Linked DNA regions of Homo sapiens: region 2 is linked to region 1. Evidence: promoter capture Hi-C in human tissues and cell types (Jung and others, 2019). All regions are on one chromosome and are shown on one strand. Each heading gives the region's core, a stretch centred on a gene start or on the middle of the fragment in contact. The rest is flanking DNA. Distances are from core to core; before and after follow the strand shown.

The links. The method cuts DNA at HindIII sites, captures the fragments that hold promoters and counts their contacts. A contact is called where the count stands out against the background at its distance.
Region 2: a fragment that was not itself captured here is called in contact with the fragment with the promoter of AMPH in region 1 in 2 of the 25 tissues and cell types used here (dorsolateral prefrontal cortex and thymus).

What each region holds. Positions count from the first base shown.
Region 1 is chr7:38,629,040-38,634,060 of GRCh38, forward strand. It overlaps AMPH (amphiphysin), which reads right to left and starts at 2,334. Exons shown (of 21, transcript NM_001635.4): 1 at 2,244-2,334. The coding sequence starts at 2,312. The HindIII fragment of the contact is 11,600 bases long and covers 1-5,021 here.
Region 2 is chr7:38,581,948-38,587,474 of GRCh38, forward strand. All of the region lies in intron 1 of AMPH (amphiphysin), which reads right to left. Among named protein-coding and RNA genes, the nearest start is that of AMPH, 47 kb to the right of the region's middle. The HindIII fragment of the contact is 3,796 bases long and covers 1-3,344 here.

The DNA.
Region 1 (5,021 bases), core at 1,084-3,583:
ACATATATGGTCTATAGTTATTGGGATGAAGAGTCTTCTCTGGAGAAGAGGAAGAGGCCAAAGGTGTAGAAAGAGGGAATCACGTGGGGATATGTCTAATGGAGCCTCTGACAGTAACATACTGTGCTTTCCTTTCTCCAGCAGCCTCCATTTGGGCTGGGCTGCTTTACCTGGATGCCAACATGCCCTTTTCTCTTTGTGCCAAGCATATCCTGATGCTACACAGACTCAGAAAGGGGGGCAGAACTCACCCTGGGGAAGAGCCTATACTCTCAGCCTCTTAGTGTTTGAACCTCTATACTAGGTGCGGCAGGCACTTTTCATCAGCACCTTTCCCCAGTGAAGAAAATAGGACGCTTGAAACCCCCAAGAGGGTCTCTCACCCCCGCTCCCATAGAAGACTGACCACCATCCACAACTGCAGTCATAAAGTACACTTGACCTTGATCGTGAAAAAGTGAGTTTTGACAATTCACAGGACTTGAATGCTCCGTAAGAGATTAGGTTTTCTTTTCATTTATTTTGAGCATATTAACAGCTGGTGACCTAGATTAAGAAATAATTCAATATGTGAAAAGGCAGACCATATCACTAAATTCCTTCACAGATGGAAAGTGGATTCAGTGAAAAGCCTCAGACCGAAGAGTCAAGTAATTACTTGGAAGGCAGGAGGAGGAGTACCTACAAGTGGGTAAAATGAAGTGTGGAAAAAGGATGACAAAACCTGGCCCAGATCCCAAGCCAGCAGATCCCTGGCTACTTTCTGCACAAGTAACCCGGGCCTGGAAGGCAGCAGGCAGCCTTGCTAATTCAGCTGCGGAGGGAGAGGCAGGAGGAGGATCACTTTAGTTCAGGATGAGCTTGGGTAGATATTAAAAGAAATACAATCCTCTTACTGCATGGAGAGTGTGCATGTGTGGAGGGAGGGACTAGAGGCAGCCACCAAGCCTCTGGGCCTGGGGACAAAAGGGATCAGTGCCCCCTCTGCTCAGCAACTCATGGTCAGCCGGAACTGGGAGGCAGCCTGAGATTGAGATTGGGTCTGAAGAGGGAAATTCATTGCCATCCTGAGCAACATGGCAAATCTGACTTCCAGTAAAACAGGAAAACGCTAAACACCCCATATCCTAGGGACGGAAAATACTGCCACGTGAAAGAGAACACAGTTCAAGTGATACCAATCATGGGGCTCATTAGCCGGTGTTGATTTTCAAGTACAATGCTCAAGCTACAATATAAAGGAAATGTCCTTTGCTCAGGACACAAATGAAGACCTCAGGGCCGTCATATACAGCAGTCACCAGGGAAGCCAGGCAAGCCTGGTGCCTGGTACAACTCCCCTCCACCTGCTTTGGGCTGTGCTTGCTACGGACCTGGGTTTCATTCATGCACGTCTCTGGGGAAAAAAAATAAATTACTGTGCGCAATTTACTGAGGGACTTGCAAAACAACAGAGAACCCAATTTGTGCAATCTGGATTTTTTAAAATGCAATAAAAGGTCCTTCTTTGTGCAGAAATATGCAGAAAGGAACTATTAGGTTCAGGTCATATTTATTTTTGACCTTCTAAAGAAGGACACTGGAGTCAAAAGGGACACAAACATATAGACCAAAATTAAAAGTGTGTATATCTAGATCTCTGTTTTGAACTCCAGAACTCACCAGACAGCACTGTGTGATCACGATCCTACCCTATTGGTCCTGGGAGATTTTTGGTGGCTTCTCTGTTAAATCGTTCGTGTCTGCTGCACTTAAGTAGCCACAAAATCCCCCGCAAGAAGGAAGGCTGCTGCAATCTCCCGCCCCGATCTGCGGGCCGCGTCCCCGCGAGCTGCCTGCGGGCGCGCTGGGAGCCGGCCCGGGGAGATGCGAGCGCAGGGAGATGCGCTCTGCTCCGGGCGCAGCGGGCAAGCTGCCGCACCTCCTACTTCTGTTGCCTGGCTTGGGGCCAGGAGAGCGGCAACCCGGGGCCGGCTCCGGAGCTGGACATATCCGGCGTCTCCGGGGCCAGGGTCTGCGGGTCCCCGGCGCTGCGTCCTCCCGACCCGCTCCCCGCGGCGCCCGGGTCGCGCCTTGCGGCAGTCACCGAGCTGAGGGCAGGGCGTCCCAGCGTCCCTGGCCCCGGCCCCGCTCCGCAGCGCGCCGCACCCCGAGGCTCGGGCCCCGCACAGCTGCAGCCGGTGCCCTCCGGCCAAGCCCCCGCCTGGCGTCCCCGGCCCCAGCCCCGGCCGCCCGCCGCTGACCTTTTCCTGCGCGCGGTTGAGTCGCTTCTGGACGTTCTTGGCGAAGATGCCCGTCTTGATGTCGGCCATGGCTGCGGGTCCGGGGAGCTGCGAAGAGCAGAGCGCGCAGCGGGGCTGGCGGCGGCGCGGAGGAGCGGGAGGAGGAGCGGGAGGAGGAGGAGAGGGCCGAGCAAGGGAGGAGCGGGAGAAGCGGCGGGGAGCCGCGGAGCGCGGAGGGGTGAGGGCGGGGCGCGGCGGCGGGACCAGCTTAAAGCGACAGAGCGGGGGCGGGATGCGTCGGGACTGGCTGTGACATGGGGAGAAGGGGCGGGGGAAGAAAGAGAAAGAGGCCAAGAAAAAGAGAGGGAAAAGCCAGAAGCCAGATTGTCTCCTCGATGATAGAAGAGTTTCGAGAGGAGAAAGGGAACCAAGCCTAGCAGAAGTCCCTGGGCCCAGGGGCAGCTCGGGGGTTCTTTTAATGCAGTTTGTATTTGGGGAGAGTGAGGGGACCTGATTCTTTCCAGCAAAAAAAGAAATAGGGGAGACAAAAAAGGGAAGAACCCTAGGGATGTGGAAGCCAGCTGGATTGGAACTGCTCTGAAGTGGAGCTGATGGGGCTGGTCCCTTGCTGCTCCCAAAAGTTTCCAGCTAACAGAGGCCCCTCCATACACCCTGGGTGTTGCAGAAGAAGGTATGGAGGTCGCCCTACCCTCAGGAGGCTCACAGCCCAGTGAGGGGCCCTGGCTGGGAAACCAACGAAGTCAGAGCTGCAGGAGAGAGGCGTGTGGAGAGCAAAGCGGGGAGAGACCATCGCTGACACTTGTTTAAACTTTAAAACAAGAGTTAGCAGGGCGGGGAGGTCCGCGTTGAGAAAGGTCAGCTTCCGGAAGACAGGCGATGTGTTTTGGTCATCTCCAAAATTCCTGTGCTGGGCAGAAACCTTAGAATAGACTACTCTTCAAGAAATGGTGCATGGAACAGTCAAGTCCCTTATAGCTTCGCATCAACCATGGAAGACCCAGTCCCCCCTAACTTGTTGCTTCCTTGGAAACCTTTTGGCAACCTTAACAGGGACTCACCATCCCTATTATTCTTATTAATGCTTGGGAGAAGTACGAATAATAGGGATAAACCTGCCCTACACCTAGAGCTCTTGTTGGCTCTGACCAGTGGTCAAACTATTCATATTCCATTCTCACTGAGAGTGTGAGGAGAAGAAGTCAGGTGGTGCCCTGCAAACAGAGGTCAGAAGTGGTCACTCACAGTGAATCCTATGAGTCCAGGTGAGCATCCTACTGTACCTCTGGGGGAAACTGTTACATTGGTAGACCTCAGCGAGCTGCCACCTGGTGTTCACTCTTGTGTCACCCTGTAGTCCCCTCACCTTGATTCTAGAATGATGCTATGGCCAGCTTTAATCAATAAGATGTGGTGAAAGTGACGCCATGGTAATTCCAGTCCCCCCCCCACCCACCCAACCTAGAAACCAGGCAAGTTTTGCCCTCTGGGGATTCCTGTGACACCATATAGGAAATTCAGCTAATTCAGCTACCCTGCTGCAAAAATAAAATAAAATAAAATAACAAGGAGAGGCCATACAGAAAGGGAGAGGCCCTGAGATTACGCAGAGAGAGAGAGAGAGAGAGAGAGCAGCCAAGATGTCCCAGCTGAGCCCATTCTCCAATCAGTTCACTGGCTGGCTGCAGCCACACAAGCAACCATCAGCAAGACCAGCAGAAGAACCACTCAGCTAATCCCAGCCAGAGTGCAGAATGTGAGCAAACAAAACAGTTTTTATGAGTCGATCACTTTTATAATGCTTTATTATAAAACAGTAGGTACCTGGAACACCTGGTCTATGTGCTTGGCTCTTATTTCCCTAGGATAAATATCTGCCCCAGTTTCCTTAGGAATTAAGGAATTTCCAGGACACAGGACTCTTAGTGCTAACAGTGGGAAAGTTCTGAGCAAATTTGGATGAGTCCTACTTATAACACTCCAAGTAAACAGAGGTTTATTTCAGAGAGATAAAAAAAAATCCACCACTTGGTCAACATTCAATGAAAAAGGCTATGCTCAGAAACCAGGAATTTGAGTCACCTCCCTCAAACAGGGGCCTTTGGGGCTGTAATGGTTATACTGAGTGTCAACTTGATTGAATTGAAGGATACAAAGTATTGATCCTGGGTATGTCTATGAGGGTGTTGCCGAAGGAGATTAACATTTGAGTCAGTGGGCTTAGAAAGGCAGACCCACCCTTAATCTGGGTGGGCACCATCTAATCAGCTGCCAGCGTGCCTAGAATATAAGCAGGCAGAAAAATGTGAAAAGAGAGACTGGCCTGGCCTCCCAGCCTACATTTTTCTCCCGTGCTAGATGCTTCCTGCCCTCGAACATCAGACTTGAATTTCTTGTTTTGGAGTTTTGGAACTCGGACTGGCTCTCCTTGCTTCTCAGCCTGCAGACAGCCTATCGTGGGACCTTGTAATCGTGTGAGTTAATACTTAAAAACACACATATATATATGTGTTCCATCAGTTCTGTCCTTCTAGAGAACCCTGACTGATACAGGGTTCAGAATCTCAGCTCTACCTTGGGATCTTGACTATGAGGATACAAGTCTCAGAATGCTGGAATACACCAGAAGTGTTCTAGAGAATATCAATCCATAGTCACTCTTGCACTGTGAGCCCCAGAGCCACCTACACTGGTTTTAGATACAGCTCCCTCTGCAGACATCACTGCCCTCCCTCTGTCAGGCAAGGGACAGGAGTTCCGAGTACCAGATTTACTTTTTTC
Region 2 (5,527 bases), core at 197-2,696, 48 kb before region 1:
TGCTATTAGATGCCTAAGAAGAGATGTCAAGTAGGCAGCTGGATACACAGATCTCAAGTTCAGAAGAGAGGCTGAGGCTGGAAATACATGCCTGGTATATAAAAACATGAGGTTGAATGATGTCCCCACAGAGTGAATAACATAGATTAAAAAAAGAAAAGAAGCCCGAAGCCTGAGCCATGGGAAACTCCAACATTAAGAAGTCAAAGAGATAAAAAGGAACCAGCTAAAAAGGAATTGAGTCTAGTACCCTGGAAGCCAAATGAAGAAAATAGTTCAAGGATGGGTAAATGATATATTGTGCCAAATAATTCTAAGAGATGGAGAAGTGACCACTTAATTAAACAAGGTGGAGGTCACTGATGACCTTGACAGCAGTTTAAGTGCCATGGTCATGTAGAAAGCCTGACTAGGGTGGGTTCAAGATAGAAGAGGAGAAATAAAAAAGCATATAGATCAGGAATTATTAGATCATGTCCAGGCACCCCTGAGGGGTTCCCAAGAGCTTTCCATGCATCAACAGAGTCAAAACTACTCTTATTCTTTCATAAGTTTATGGCAGAGTTGTTCAAAGATTCCATGACATATAGATGACATCCTGTACTGACAGCTAATGAGATGTGTGCTTGTGTATTATGTTTTAAATGTTTTTAATTTCTAATATGGGAAATACTAATGAATATAACCAAAATAAACTACAATTCTTTGGAGGTGTTTTTAAGAGTTGTAAAGAGGTCCTGAGATCAAAAAGTTTGAGAATGGCTGAGTAGACAGACAGACATGCATGCATATACTTATAGCAAAGCTTTAGCCTCAGAAGTCACATCGGGGACGCACAGGGTCCTAGTCAAAAGCTGATTCTATTCAGTGCAATATGTGACTGTCTGAAAAGCTCTAGCCTGAAACAACCTTATTTATTCAGGGCCGGATGTCAAAATGAATAAGACCATCCTTCACTCAAGCACAATTTGGTCCATAGATTCAAATTCTCTTTAGCATTATTATATTTTTGTCTAAGGGGAAATTTAGTTTAGAATGGTTCACCACACATAAGAGTCAACAATGTATTGACAATCTCATGGTTTATTACTGATGGGAATAGGGAATTATTTTAATAAAAGATTAAGGTTAAAAGAATCACCACCATCCCGCTTATTCATTTTCAAGGATAATATGCATCAGAGCTCCCTTTCACTCAAAACATATGAAGAGCCCAAGATTACATTTCTGTATCTCTGTGTAGTAAAAAGAACAGATAACTTTAGAAATCAACAGACCTGGGCTTGCCCACTTCCTAGTTCAGTGACTTTGGCAACATACTTGACACCTCTGAGACTTTATTCTTCAATCTTTCAAGTAGAGATTTCATAAGTTCGTGACAATCAAATAAAATATGCTATACAAAGAACCTAATAGAAAGCCTAGCGAAAAGTAGCTATTCAATAAATAGTGAATTTTTTTTAGTATTTCAGTAACTAAGCACAAGCCACACACCTTTTAATACTTAAACTTGAAATAATAATATGAAAACACTTGTTCAAAGCAAGAGAGAATAAAGGATTTATTGAGACAATACTTACATGTAGACATTCATAGTGAAGCCTTCTGCATTCATTTTGAGGATGAACCCCTCTGTACAGGATAGACATATTCTATCAGGTATTTATTTCCTAAATGCTATTGTGTGCCAGGCACTGTGGTGGACAATAAGAATACTAAAGAAAATAAAGCAGAGCCCCTGCCCCCAGGGAAGCTCACAGTCCACTAGGGAAACAAATTCTGAACAAAACTGCAATAGAGAGGGATAAAGCTGTGTCAGCCATGCACTGGGTGCCCTGGAGGCAGAGTGAGGGGGGCCAGAAGCCCCTGCACTGCTTACTACCCACCAAGTCCTATAATCTTCCTTCCAGTGAGTAACAACTCTTGAAAAATATCCCTAAAGAACCCTGCTACTACCATTGCCATTGACACATCTCTGAACTTACTGAGTTCTGCTCTATAATGACAGGGTTAGAGAGAGACAGGATGGTCATGTGTTTCCGGGGTTTAGAATTTGATTAGCAACAATCTAAATCCATGGAAAAGACTTGCTTATAACCAGTTTATTTTTACATGTGCATTTCTTTTTTTAAAAAAATAAGGTCATTAAGAGCCCATTTGTTTTTATATATTTGACTTGTTTCAATTCATTTTAGTCATTGTCCTTTCATGCTCTTATTGCAGCATTTCAGGCTACTGGGAGCACCTTCATGTTGGCCTCTGTGTCCTTTTGAAGTGACTCCAGGTAGTCTTTGACAGCCTCCTTGCTTCAGGGGATAACAAGCTATTCCAGATGCATCTTATACATTTCCTACCCACACCTAGAATCAGCTATTTCTGCAAGGAGCCCTGGTAGTAGGAAGTTTTAGTAGGATATGGTTTCGTTTAGTAAGAAATGTGGCACTGCTGCATGGCTGTCATTGCTTTGAGGCCTGAATATCATTCAAGATGTGGTCATGTTCATGAGATGTCGCCGCAGTGAGGTTAGTCATTTACTACCACCTAACACCGTCCTTTTCTGACAATGCCGTCCATGAGGGGATGTCCCCTGAAGGCAGTTATTCTGCCAAAAATCAAAGCTCCCTGCAGAGATATGCCATTCCTGAACTGGTAGGTCACTCTTGGCATATGATCATGAATCACGTCATGTGGCAGAAAAGGAAAAGAACCTCCTAGAGATTTGGAAGGCCAGTTTCTGACGAGAGAACTAGGGAATCAACATTCCCAGGCATCAGCCTTCCTGGAAATTTTCCCTCTGCACTCTCCGGGGCACACGGCCTGATTCCATCACTGCCTCAGCAGAGACCTGAGCAGATGGAGCTGAAATCTTGCAACTTCTACCTAAATAAAATGGCCATTATGTAAATATCGGGCTTGAATCCAGTGTGCAAGGGCATATGTGTATTTCAAATAGCCATCAGGTCTACATTTCTCCCACGTGCTTCAAGCTTTAAACAAAAATTTCCTATCCCTTCTGAGTAAGAATTACAAAGTTCATCTCTGAATTCTCCATGACAACCAAGAAAGGTGGCAATTTCCAACCTTGGGAAACAGCAAGCTACATGTTCCAACCCTCAGACTTCTCAGTCCATGATTCATCATCATAATCATCATCACAATTCACACAACTGTTTATTTACGGGGTGCCAGTTAAGTAAGAAGTATCTCATTTCCCCTCACAAGAACCCCATGGCATAGATACCACTATTATTCCATTTTTACAGTGAGGATTCTGAGAATCTACAAGGCCATGTGTTTCAAAACTATTAGGAGGCAGTGCCAGACTCAGGTCTGACTCGAGGTGGATGCCCTTAGCCATTACTCTGAGAAAGAAGGGAACAAGTATCCTTTCTCCAGTTGGCAGGACATACAGTAGGGAATATGACTTGGCCACTAGCTCCCAGCTAGTGGGGAGTGGAGATGCATAAACTCTGCTAACTAGGGCACTCACAGGGGCTTTTGCAAAGTAAGAAGATGCTGTCATTTGATGGTGACAGCCGCGCTCAAGTCATCTGTAGTACCAGGTCCTGACGACACAAGCCTGGCTTAAGAAAAATACATTCCCTTTACACATATGGATCTTTGAGGAAACAATGCAGAAAAAGTGCTTTATACTAGGTTCTGCTGTTATTTTACACACCACAGAGCCAAATTTAGCCTAAGCTTTTAATACATGGATCTGTCCAATAGCCTCACGGTCCACCGTGCCAGTGGAATTTTCCTGTCTACTCTTAATAGGCTATTTAAATGCAGCAAGGGCTATTTTTGAAACATTTTTCACCATTTGAGTGTGGTATATGGTAGAATTTCTAAATCTCAATAATGCTTCAGCACTGATTACTTCTTCTGATGGGAACATTAAGTATAAATGTATGCATAGCTGTGGATACACAGAAGATTTCATTTACATAATCCTTAAACCAGGGGATAGTGAAGTAGCAGCTAGCCTGAGAGATTTTTTTCTAAGCTTCATCTCTTTGCACTGAGATAACTTTCACACATTTCTTTTGAATTTAGCTTTCACCTTTTTCACCCTTTAAAATAATCTTATCCTACAAATAATGGCATGCTACATTAAATTACACCTAAAAGATGGCCACATGAAGTCCAGACATGGAACTAAAATATGCCTGGACTTCCAAATATTTCAACAGGAAGGCAACCATCCCAGCATTTGTTTAAATATGAAAATTTTCATCGTGGAAATTTTCCAACGAACACGTAAGTAAAGAGAACAGTATAAAGAACCCCCACAAACCGTTTACCCAGCTTCAACCCCTTATCAACATTCTGCCATTCTTGTGTCACATGTCAATCTCATCAGAATTTTTAAAAGGGCATTCTCTGAGCAAAACAAGCCTTCTGTCAGAACTACAGTGGTGTCTCAAATTTTGTATTTTCTATAATAACATAGATTCTTCTACCTTGTGGTACCAATCACAGAATATATCAACTCAACAGCATCTGCTCAATTTCAAAACTACTCTAAACAGTAACTCACATTTGCAACAAATCAAGATATGAAAGGGCCAATTGCTAGTGAGTTAGCTCTAAGCAACATAGACTGATCTTTTCTCATATATATATATCACATTCATGTAAAAATACAAGGTCTGACATGGAAGGAGGGGTCTAGAGCTGATGCAGAGTACAAGTGACAGCAGGTGGCTCCAACCAGAAACACAAAGGTACACACAGTCTACATTCGGCCACACCAAGTAGGGGACACAGGTCCCAGTTCTGCTTCTCATCATTATCCTCATCATGACTATTTATTGATGATCTGTGCTATCCTGCACCCTGTGCTAAGCACTTTACATGTCTTCTCTTTCATCTCCAACAGGATAGATCTATTTTATCTTCAACTTGCAGATGAAGAAACAGAGGTTTAGAGAGATTTCATGGCTTGTTCAGCAGAGTCTAGATTAGAAACCAGGTTGTCCTAACTTCGAAGTCTGCATTATTTCTCCTATCACACACTTTGGTCCCAAGTATTATTGACCCAAATATTAGGAATTGTGTAAATACACACACACACACACACACACACACATAAAATCCACACCTATTCTGAATCTCTAGTGTGCTAATGAATAAAATGACCAGTACCTGTGCAATATCTGGTTAAAATCTGAGACTGTGGGGCTCTCACCAATTTTATAACTTTTTTCGCTCCTGAAGAGAATAAACAAATCAAGGAGCTGTGGCCATGCTCATCTGGACACTGAGTCGACACTGTTTACTGTACTTCAAAGCACCTTTAATATTAGGAAACAGCTCTGGGTGCTAATGTTTCCTGGGGCAGGTGGGTCAGGAGGTTTCAAAGCTGTGACTATTTAGTGCCAGCAAAAACCAATCTTGACATCGATCTAAACGTGCTTCAGAAGAGGTGGTTCCAGGAGAAACTGTCAGCTTAAACTCCCTGAGTTATCTGTGGTATTTAAGTCCAGGTAATAAAAGGCTCTCTGATATTTGGATCACATTTTGT